Linked DNA regions of Homo sapiens: regions 1, 2 and 3 are each linked to region 4. Evidence: promoter capture Hi-C in human tissues and cell types (Jung and others, 2019). All regions are on one chromosome and are shown on one strand. Each heading gives the region's core, a stretch centred on a gene start or on the middle of the fragment in contact. The rest is flanking DNA. Distances are from core to core; before and after follow the strand shown.

Region 1 (2,700 bases), core at 13-2,512, 630 kb after region 4:
CTGTGACATTCGCCTGACAATAAAACCGTTCCCTAGGACACCTCCTGTCACACATACACTTGGTTGGCTTTACAAAATGTGAGTCCTCTCCCTTACCTGTCTGAATGAAGTAAGGAAAAGGGCCGGGTGTTAAGGAAAAAGGGGGTTGGGGGATGTCAAATCCAAAATAAGATTTCTCATCTGAGAACAACATGGTTATGTATATTTTAATTAGGGGGTGAAACAAGTAAAAAAAAAAAACTGTTAAAGGATTCCAAACTTAATGAACGACATAAACAATTTTATATTAACATATAATACCCCTCTAAAGAAGTCAATGAAGCTAAAGGAAAACTTTTAAACATTTGTCTCTTTTAAATAAAAAGAAAAAAAACCCTGAAAAAATAAACAGAAAAGCAGAGATCCACAAACAAACTATTCTTGTTCACTCCAGAAGTTGGGATCTTAGGATGGATATTTTCATCTTCACAGCACACCCTAGCACACTCATATCAGAATAGACTGCTATAAAAAGGGGGAGGGATGGGAGCTGCCAGGGTGAGACATGCCTTCTGCTGAGCTGAGCAACTACCCCCAACCCCCATCGGCCAAGCAGCCCAGACGCTCTCAGGTGGACGGTCCTTCAGGGGCGGAGCGAAGCCCAAAGCCCACTTCACTCTTGTCAGGGACTAGTCTCTAACTACAAAAAGCTACTGTGAACACTTAGGGCCTCAGGAATCCTGGTGACTACAACTTCTAGCCTCTTTACACACATTATGGATATTTCTTAACATACATTGGGAAATCAAAAAGCGTATTTCATGAACAAAGCTTGAAAACATGTACTCTCTACCCTAAGCCCAACTGAGGCTGCCCAATTCGATTCAAATAAAAACTGCTGTGGTCTGAGGCTGGCTGTCTCACTCTGCTGACTGTCCTCCCCATTCAGTGTCTGTGAAAACTTACTTTCTACCTCCTGAAACGACTCGGCTTGCAAGCAAAAAGTTATTCCAATGCAAACTATACCTGATATTTTCGTGAAACTTAGAAACTAAACCTAAAACTCGACTCCCATCGCAATCTATTACTACCACTTCTGCTAAAGGTAACTTATAGCCAAGAAAACAAAACAAAATACGATTTTCTGTCCATGTAGTGGCCCTGTGACGACACCCCCTCTCTTACTGGTACAAAGTCTAGGGCTTGGGACAGCTGGCTCCCCTCAGCCCCCTCCCTTTCAGTCATAGGCGGTTACCACGAAGATGACTTGTAGATTTCTAACTTAAAAACCAACGAGACGTTAAGTTTAATATACATGTAGATCCCAAATCAATTCATTTGGGCATGGACGAAAGAAAAGAGGGTGGAGAGGAAGGTTTTCAACATTATTAAAAAAAACACCGGGAAATTCACAAAAACGCACTACAGTAAGTTGGATGCAAACCCGGCCACGGAACTCAAAAGTGAAGCAGCCTTCGCGCCAGCAATCCGAGCCTTAAAAAAAGTCTCGCACGTTCACAACAACACAACCGCCACAACGCGCACACACATCCCAGCTGTAGAGGCGACAGCTCCAGGCGCCCCCGCCCGCCGCTCGGCTCTCCGAGCTCCCGACCCCCTCCTGACCCCGGCCCTGCCCCCCAGCGGCTCAGCCCGCAGGCGCCGGGGGTCCGAGAGCGCGGGGCCCGGACCGGGGCCGCGGGAGGGAGCGCTCCTCCCGTACCTGCTCCGTCCCCGGCTCCCTCCCGCGGCGGCGCCCGGCCCCTCCTCCGCCCTCCGGGCTCTCCCAGCCCTGGCCGAGTCCCAACACCGGCCCCCCATCCACCCGGAGCCCCCCGCGCCCGCGGATCCCCTCCAGCCCGACGCCGGGAGAACTTACCACATGCAGCTCCACCTGGGAACTAACGCATCAGGAGGGGTTTCCGCCCACTCCTCAGCTACTCCCGCTCCATGCGGAGTGCCCCGCTCCAGGGGCCCGAGGGTGGCGCCGGGGAGCGGGCAGCAGGCGAGGCTGAAGCTAAGACTCCGCCGTTCTCTGCCTGCGCGCCCCGAGCATTATACAATGGTGGAGGCGGCGGCGGCAGGCAGCGGAGGAGGAAGCAGGAGGCGGGCGGAGGGGGCGCCCTGACCGAGCGAGCGGTACGTCGTGCTCCAGCACTCGCCGTGCAGGAGTGACGTGCGGCCCGCGAGCCTCCCGCGAGCTCCGGGCCCCGGCGCCGCAGGCCCCGCCCCTGGCCGCCCGACCCCGCCCCCGCCGGCCCCGCCCCGGCCCGCCTCTCCCCGGCGGTCCCGGGAGGCGCGATAAAGGCCGGGGCCGGCCGCGGCCGGCCGCGGCCGCAGGAGGAGCAGGAAGGGGCGGCGGGGCGCAGTGGGCGCCTGGTGGCAGCGCCGCCCCCAGCTCCCTGCCGGGCCGGCGCGCCCCTGATTTTCTCGTAAGGACGGGCTGAAAGAGGAGGGGAGACAGAAGGAGACACTCCGGCCCGAGGACCACCACTGCCACTAGTAACGCCCCCTACACACTCTAGAAGTGCTCAGGCGAATGACGAAGCGGCTGGTGACAAAGGCGGCGGCGAGTGCAGCGCGTGCACAGCCCGCGGAGCCGCGCGACCGCAAATATGACAAGCATTTGAGCTATTTGGCAACGTGGGGCCGGTCAGCGGGGCGGGCAGGGTCCCCGCGGGGGGCGAGGGGCAGAGAGCTGGCCCGGGCGCCCGTCTCGCT
Region 2 (2,700 bases), core at 34-2,533, 590 kb after region 4:
GAACCCAGGAGGCGGAGGTTGCAGTGAGCCGAGATCGTGCCACTGCACTCCAGCCTGGGCGACAGAGCAAGACTCTGTCAAAAAAAAAAAAAAAAAAAAAAAAAGACAGAAGAAGGAAGGAAGGAAGGAGGAAGGAGAACCAGTGGCCAGCGCCCTGAGTGTGTTTGGAGAGGATTGGGGTGTGGGGGTGTGCGTTTGAAGCCTTGTGTCTCCTGTGGACAAGGAGGAGCGCTCTGTGCCCTGGGGGAAGCCAAGGGAGAGGAGGGGTTGGAGAGGCAGGGACCCCGTCCGCCTGGACACTCGGGAGTGAAGGCGTGACAGGCCTCAGCCGGCCGTCCCTCCTCGCGCCTCTGCCCCGGGGGACGCACGAGGACCAGAAAGCCGAGGGGGCGCAGGGCCTGCTCTGGCCGCCGGGCCCGGGATGCCAGGATGCGGGGGGCCGGGGCTGCCGGTGCTCTTGGGGGCAGGGGGAAGCTCCGCTCCCTCTACAGAGGACAACCGCCCCGCCGCCCCGGCAGCCTCCGAGGCGCCCTCTCCGCGCTTCACTCTCGGCCGCTCCCCCGGAGCCACGCGAGCCGGTCGTGGCGGCTGGACCCGAGCCTGGGAGCCTGCAGGCGGCCGCGCCGCGCTGCGCTGCCGAACCGCCCGGAGCCGCAGGTCCGCCGCCCGCCCGCTCGGGGGCGCCCCAGCTTCCGGCCTCCGGCGGCTTCCGCGTCGCGCTCCCAAGGCCCGGCGGCCGCGCCAGGTCCCCTCGGCGCCCCCCGTCCCCTCTGCCGGGCGCTCGCCCCCGCCTCCACCCTGGGATCTGAGCCCGGGCCGTCTCCCCGCGGCGCCGCGCCTGACGGTCACTCTCTCTGACCTCCTGGGCCCAGTCCTGGGGCCAAGAGCCGCATCCCCGGGGACCTTGGTAGAAAAATATGCGGCTCCTGTAGCCACCCAAGATCTTCTGGATGAGAACCCCTGCACCAGCAGACTGGGTGTCGTGGACCTCCAAGCGGTTTTGACGCTGCGGAAGCTTGAGAACCTCCGCTCTGGAGCCCAGACCCCGCTGGAGGGTGGACAGAGCGGGAGGGTGGACTGAGCCTCTCGGGGACAGCGACCCTGTCTTTGTTCCCTGAAATAGCAGGGAGTCCTGCTGATTATTGACTGGTGAGACAGGGAAAATGGTTCCTGCAGGCAGCCCTGGGGTACTTTAATAAAAATGGTCTTTCCTGGATGATGACCAGGAGTGACTTGGAAACTGACACAAATTTCCTCAAAGGATTGATCCATTTAGCATCTGTTTAGATTACATCCCAAGTTGTTGGCAATGGAGCTGGAAAAGCACTCTGACCCTCTATTGTCAATGGTCTCTGAGGGGCTCACAGCACCTGGCGTGGCTCACATATCCAGCATTCTGCCAGGAACGTGGACCCTTGCTTCATGGACGTCATTTATAGGCTGAGTGAAAATCTATCCCAGAAGGTTTGGGATACATTTGAAGATACTTCCAACCTTCACTAAAGATTATTCCCATTTCATAGGAAGGAACTACGTCCCTTCTTATTCCACCTAGAAAAATGTGGAATAATTCAAAAGATGTGACCATAACTTTTTGTCTTTTTTCCAGAATATTTTAAAATATGTTTACATAATATTTACAATAAAATTTAACACATTCATAACTCTGTAATGTGTCGCATCCCCTGAGACCCAAGTGTCTGCTGTTAACCTAGTGACAGGGAGGGCTAAGCGTGGTGTGTTAAGGAATGTTGGCTCACTGCACAATATCTCCCACCAGAAGTCCATTTTGCAGCCAACAACCTTTGAATCACCCTGCCCTTGACTCAAGGGGATGATTCTGATGGTGGAGTACGGATCAGAGCGAGGGGAGATTTGGGATAGGCCGGCCAGGTCTCTCAAGTCCCATCTTCCAGGTGACCCTCTCACCTGCTTCTAAGCCTTTGAATGGGTTGTAAGAGGTTGGGGGCTGGGGGTTAGGGATGAGAGGAGGGCCCCAGAAGATGGGGCTTTCTGGCTGGTCTGCTTGGGGAGGATGGGAGAGGGTTTGATAGAGCAGGTGTTTGTTCAGGGCCAATTGTGCTGTCAAGAGCCTGTTTATCCCAACAATTCTACTTCAGGAATTTCTTCTATGGGAATAATCAGAGAGGCCTTAAATGACCAACAATAGGCTGGGCACAGTGGCTCACAACTGTAATCCCAGCACTTTGGAAGGAGGTGGGTGGATCACCTGAGGTCAGGAGTTCGAGACCAGCCTGGCCAACATGGCAAAACCCCATCCCTACCCAAAATACAAAAAATTAGCCCGGCGTGGCACCTGTAATCCCAGCTACTTGTGAGGCTGAGGCAGGAGAATCGCTTGAACCCAGGAGGCGGAGGTTGCAGTGAGCCAAGATCTAGCCACTGCACTCCAGCCTGGGCAATGGAGAAAGACTCTGTCTCAAAAACAAACAAACAAACAAACGGAAAAACCTAACAATGTGGGAGGGGTTTAAAGAAGAGAGCTCAGTCACATGAGAGAACAATCTGCAGCCATCAAAAAATCCCATTTTCAAAACAGTTCTAATGACATGGAGAATTGCTCATGATATGAGGTAAAAAGCAGCATAGAAAATGGTATTGTATGATACCTACTTTATGCAAAATACATATTATTTGCCTAAGGAAACATATATTTTTAAAAAGGACTGGAAGAGAGTT
Region 3 (2,700 bases), core at 4-2,503, 540 kb after region 4:
AAAGGAGGCTATGAGTTATTTTTTATTAGACATCCAATTGATAATGCTACAGGGAAAATGCTGTTAGCTGAAGATTTGTTTTGAGAGCTTTGAAAGTCAAGTGCCACCAAAAAGAAGAGAATTACTAATACCTTGGCTTGTGTTAGTTCAAGATTAAGTTACTGGTTTGTTTTGTTTTTGAGACGGAATCTTGCTCTGTCGCCCAGGCTGGAGTGCAGGTGCAATCTCGGCTCACTGCAGCCTATGCCTCCTGAGTTCAAGCGAGTCTCGTGCCTCAGCCTCCCAAGTAGCTGTGATTACAGGCATAGAAACTCAGTGTTCTTAAACTGAATATAACCAGTCCTACCTTTTCATCTTCACTTATTTAGTCATCTAGCTAATATTTATGCAGGTTTTCCATCCTGTGAACACTGGAACATACAACTGAAAACAGAAGTAAGCAACAAAATAAGAGAATTAAGATGTAAGACTTTAGCTTTCCTTATAGATCTTTCCTTATTTAACTATTTCGATAGAATTTCCTTTTGCTATTTTTTCCTCAGAAAATTTGACTATCTGGTGTTTAATTTCAAAATAGAAATGCTTTATTAGATTTATTCAGAAACTGTACAGAAGGGAAAAATCATGTTTAGATCTGGTGAATATTACAGCTGGTCACTCTTTATACAGCTTGAAATTGGGGATTGGTAAGTATACAGTTGTAGATTGTACTTGATAGCTTACTTAATATTTAATGGTGCTGCAGCATAAGATATCCTCTTAAATGGAAGATTAAATTACCCAGTGGATTTTAATGTTTCTTCTAAACTTCTACTTGAGTGTGAAACCTAATGTTATCAATATTAAAACTATTGATATTAATCAACTCCTGTCCCTAAGCAAGAAAGGAAAACTAACTGGAAATAAGTTGAAGGAATATCAAGAGTTACCTTAAATATAAAATACTTAAGTCATTACTTAATATCCTTGATAGGGTCTTGGAAACTGCAACTTTAAGTGAAAGGACATATAACAAAACCAATTTTACCATAGGCTAACTGATATAAACAAGAGTTAAGTTTCTATGGCATCTTTCTGGTCACAGAAACATCACTGAACCTCTAAATAAAGACACAAAGCACTTCTAATATTAAACATTGAAATAAATGTGAGCTATGCTCACATTTAAGAAAGATTACAAAGAACAAGAAACATAATTACTTACCCAGTTTTTGGTGAATCAGTGAGTGACATCACTCATAGTGGTGCTGGGTAAAATCAAGGGATAAACGTTTGCAAAGCAAAAATGATCTAAGGAGCACCTCCTACCACCATACAATTCAAAAACAATCACAAATCTGGCAGGCTCACTGGGCACTTTCATACTGCATAATTTATTGCTGTGCATTTGTATGATTATTGTAGACTTCACGAATGTTTACTTTGTAATTTATTCTTTTTGCAATCTACTTATTCCAGCTCAGGGTCATCAGTGGCCGAAGCCTATCCCTCCAGCTCAGGGTACAAGGCTGAAACTATTCCTGGCCTGAATGCCATTCCATTGCAGGGCACACTCACACACACATACCAGCACTTACTCAGACTGGAACAATTTAGACAATCTAATGTACACATCTTTAGGATCTATAAGGAAACTGGCATACCCAGAAAAAAAACCCAGGTGGACATACGGAAAATGTGCAAACTCCACACAGGTAGTGGCTGCAGCCAGGAATCAGTTGTTTTTCTCATCAACATTACAACAAAATGACATTATTCAAGGACCTGCTGTCCTTTAAAGGAGATAGGCATTTGAATGGCATAAGAACCAGAGTCTGGGGTCCTGTGTACACCTCTCTGGAAAGCTAAATGAGACTTGCAATACACTTAATCTCTTTATGCCCAGATGTAGTCATTTATAAAATAGAGGTGTATTAGAGTTCTCCAGATAAACAGAACCAATAGGGTATGTGTGGAGGTTAGGGAGGGAAGGATGGGGAGGGGAAGTAGAAGTGGAGGTAGTAGAGAGAGAGAGATTGATTATTGGAAATTGAGAAGTTCCAAAAGCCACAGTGCATAAGCTGGAGACCCAAGAGCTGATGGTGTAGTTCCAGTCTGAGTCCAAAGCCCTAAGAACCAGGAGAGCAGTGGTGTAAGTTCCAGCCCAGGAGCCAGCAGGCTTAAGATCTAAGAAGAGCTGATTTTTTAGCTCAAGTCCAACTGAAGTACCAACTCAAAATCAGGCAGAAGTTCCTTAGCATTTTTGTTCTATTCAGGTCTTCAGCTGATTGGATGAGGCCTACCCACATTAGGGAGGGCAATCTGCTTTAGTCAGATTACCAATTCAAATCTTAATCTCATCTAGAAACACCCTCACAGGTACTCCCAGAATAACATGTTTTCGCGTTCTTTGGTTTGTTTTTGAGACAGGGTCCCATTCCGTTGCCCAGCCTGGAGTGTAGTGGCATGGTCTCTGCTCACTGCAGCCTTCACCTCTTGGTTTCAAGCAGTCCTCCCACCTCAGCCTCTCTAGTAGCTGAGACTACAGGTGTGTGCGACCACACCTGGCTAATTTTTGTATTTTTTATAGAAATGGGATTTTGCCATGTTGCCCAGATGGTCTCCAACTCCTGGGCTCAAGCAATCTGCCTGCCTCTGCCTCCTAGAGTGCTGGGATTATAGGCATGAGCCACCATGCTCCGCCCCAGAATAATGTTTGAC
Region 4 (2,700 bases), core at 85-2,584:
ATTTATCACGGTATTACTTAAAGGCGTTTAGTATTAAGACCGCCCTTGATTTGACAAATCAGAAATACAGCCAATTAAAAACAAAAACAGTCCAAACAATTTAATTCTTCGAAAGAGCCTCAATAAAGACCAAAAAATAAAGCTGGTTAGAAGAAAAAAATTTTTTTTTGAAACGCCTGTCAGTCAAAATGCTAAAAATACCATCTTGAACTCAACACATGAACAGACCAAACGGCTAATTATAATTGGCAAGCCAAAGTTCCCAAGTCAACGACGGGAGAGCAGAAACGGCAGAGAGGGCCTGCCCTTTCTGTCTATGCAGAGATGGAAGGAGGCAGAACTGAAGAAAATTATTGCACAAATTATTTCAAGCTACATTGCCAAAATGCAAAATACTGAGTAACTCTTTGGGTTAGCCTTCCCCGGAGAGAAAAACAAACAAATGTTTTAACGATTCCAGTAGAATCCAATAGGACTAAGGGCCTGGCTGGAAAAAGAAAAGGAAAGTTTGGGGGCAGCGTCTAAGGGGGTGATGGAAGTTCCAGAGCTGGGATCCCGGAAAGATAAGAGAGGGGCAAGAGCGGCGTTTGCGGTCGCTGACAGGAGGCAGGGAACACAGCTGCCAGCCCCGATCCCGGAGGGAGAGTGAAAAGGAAAAAAAAAAAAAAAAAAGGAAGTGGCGGAGAGGAGCATGGAAGCTTCAGTGCCGGTCAGCTGTGACCGAAACTCGGTCCGTTTGGGGCTGGGGAGGAGAGCCGAGGGGGTGGGGTCTCGGTCCCTCTCTCCGCTGTAGGTCGGGGTGAGAGTGGGCTGAGACGCGCGGGGGGCCGCGGGGCACACCTACCTGCGGGTCCCGGGGCAGCCGCCCTGAGCGAGGCCTAGTGCATCGCCGCCGCCTCCAGCCCTCCACGTCGCACCGAGGCTGCTGCTCCACGGCCGCCGCCGCCCGGCGCCCGGCCGGGCCCGAGCCCGGGTTCCCGCCCCCGCCCCGCGCCCGCTGGCCAGTCGGCCCGGGGAGCACAGGGCCGCCCTCTCGAGCCCAGCTTCACTCAGGGGTGAGAGGTGGCAGCGGCGGCTCCCTCACGTCTCTCCCGGGTGTCCTGTCAGCCAGCAGTTTCCCCCGGGTCCGCAGCGCCGCCTCCGCCGCTGCTGCCACCGCCTCTCCCACATCCCCGGCCTCCAGGGGAGCCGCCGCCGCCGCGCCACGACCACTGCCTCTAGCGCTTCTGCTCCCGACTCCACTGCTTTCCCTCACCCCGCCGGCCCAGCCGGCTCGGCCCGGTCGGGTGCGGGGAGACAGCGCCGGAGGCCGCCGCAGCCCCCAGCCCACAATCCACCGCGCGGCTCCGCCGGGGCGGGAGGGCCGCGGCCCGGGCCGGGGGGAGCGCCCGCCGCCTGGGGAAAGCGGCCTTGGCGCAGGCCGGCGTGCCCGTCGCAGGCGCAGCCAGAGTTCTCTCGGGGCGGGGAATACACCGCGTGGCTCCCCTGCGCCTCCTCTAATAGTCCTACACGCAGACAAATCCACGCTGAATTCCACTTTCCCCACCACCCTTCCCCCCAACTCCCAGTTTTCAGGAACACCCAGAAAACCTCCTGCCGCCTTCCCCGGGACTGGGACGCGACCCCTCCAGCGTAGCCCTCGCCACCCCCAAGACCAACCGACTCGAAACATCCCTAAATCACCCGGGACCTATTAAAGCAAATACTTCCACGAGATTCCTCCTCTCCCCCACCCCCTCGAAGTAAATGCTTTTCAGCTGTTCCCTAGTAAATGCCCTTCCAAAGGTTAAAGGTCACCCCTCCGCAACAACCCAGTTCTCTCTATTGAGGCCTTTTCCCCATCCAGTCCTCCCCTCCAAGTCTTCCCCAAGTTCCAGGCCTTCCTCCCAGACACTGTAATCAGTTATTCCTGTTACTTGACTGAGATACTTGGAGTGTGTATGATAATTAATACCTTCTAATTCTGACTTCAGCCTGGTTTCACAGGACTTGCAACTTTAAACCAATAAAACACAGTCCACAAGAAAGGGAAGGTCTTAGTATATAAATATAAAGACACACACACACACACACACACACATATATTTTAGGAAGAAAAAGATCCTCAATCCTTTGAGTGCTTGTGACTTAATTTTGGGAAGATTTTATTCAATGTTGAAATTCTTGCCTAAAAATAAATTTCAAGCATTTATAAGACATAGTATGTTTTAACAAATCAAAAGTGAAAATGTAACTCTTATAGTTGGGGGGTTGAAAAAAATGTTGATCCAAGTTTCACTTCTAAGAAGTCACTTTGAAAACTGCAAACATAACTTTTATGAAATAATATTTTCCCCACCAAAGAGCTAAAGTTGGGGAAAGAGGACAAAAAGTAAGGAAGCATCAAAAATAGTTGAGAGAAAACTCTTACATTATATTTTTCTAAGTTCAATCCTCTAAAATTATGTAAGAAACAAAGTGAGAAAATCATTCCCCAATATGAAATAAATTTAACTGTAAAAGAGTGAAGTCCTCTTAAATCCCTGATCACTTATAAAACCAGATGAGTTTACATAGAAGCAGAGTAGAATGGTGGTTACCAAAGACTGGGGGGTAAAGGGTGATGAGGAAAGGGGAAATGTGAGTCAAAGGGTATAAAGTTTCAGGTAGGAGGAATAAATTTTAGTGATCTATTGCACAGCACGATGACCACAGTTAATA

The links. The method cuts DNA at HindIII sites, captures the fragments that hold promoters and counts their contacts. A contact is called where the count stands out against the background at its distance.
Region 1: a contact is called between a fragment that was not itself captured here and the fragment with the promoter of VPS54 in region 4, in 1 of the 25 tissues and cell types used here (liver).
Region 2: a contact is called between a fragment that was not itself captured here and the fragment with the promoter of VPS54 in region 4, in 1 of the 25 tissues and cell types used here (spleen).
Region 3: a contact is called between a fragment that was not itself captured here and the fragment with the promoter of VPS54 in region 4, in 1 of the 25 tissues and cell types used here (mesendoderm cells).

The regions. Positions count from the first base shown.
Region 1 is chr2:64,651,762-64,654,461 of GRCh38, forward strand. SERTAD2 (SERTA domain containing 2) reads right to left here and starts at 2,152. Exons shown (of 2, transcript NM_014755.3): 1 at 1,859-2,152. LOC124907776 reads left to right here and starts at 2,310. Exons shown (of 1, transcript XM_047446580.1): 1 at 2,310-2,700. The coding sequence starts at 2,519. RefSeq lists silencers at 1,116-1,195, 1,496-1,825, 1,934-2,228, 1,966-2,700. The HindIII fragment of the contact is 3,819 bases long and covers 1-2,700 here.
Region 2 is chr2:64,608,788-64,611,487 of GRCh38, forward strand. The region is part of intron 1 of LINC02579 (long intergenic non-protein coding RNA 2579); the gene reads left to right. Among named protein-coding and RNA genes, the nearest start is that of LINC02579, 2.8 kb to the left of the region's middle. RefSeq lists a silencer at 271-950. The HindIII fragment of the contact is 5,089 bases long and covers 1-2,700 here.
Region 3 is chr2:64,557,321-64,560,020 of GRCh38, forward strand. The region is part of intron 2 of AFTPH (aftiphilin); the gene reads left to right. LOC105374773 (a long non-coding RNA gene) reads right to left here. Exons shown (of 7, transcript XR_007086343.1): 5 at 132-2,700. Among named protein-coding and RNA genes, the nearest start is that of MIR4434, 33 kb to the left of the region's middle. The HindIII fragment of the contact is 5,920 bases long and covers 1-2,700 here.
Region 4 is chr2:64,018,094-64,020,793 of GRCh38, forward strand. VPS54 (VPS54 subunit of GARP complex) reads right to left here and starts at 1,335. Exons shown (of 23, transcript NM_016516.3): 1 at 845-1,335. RefSeq lists an enhancer at 519-588 and a silencer at 749-1,458. The HindIII fragment of the contact is 9,038 bases long and covers 1-2,700 here.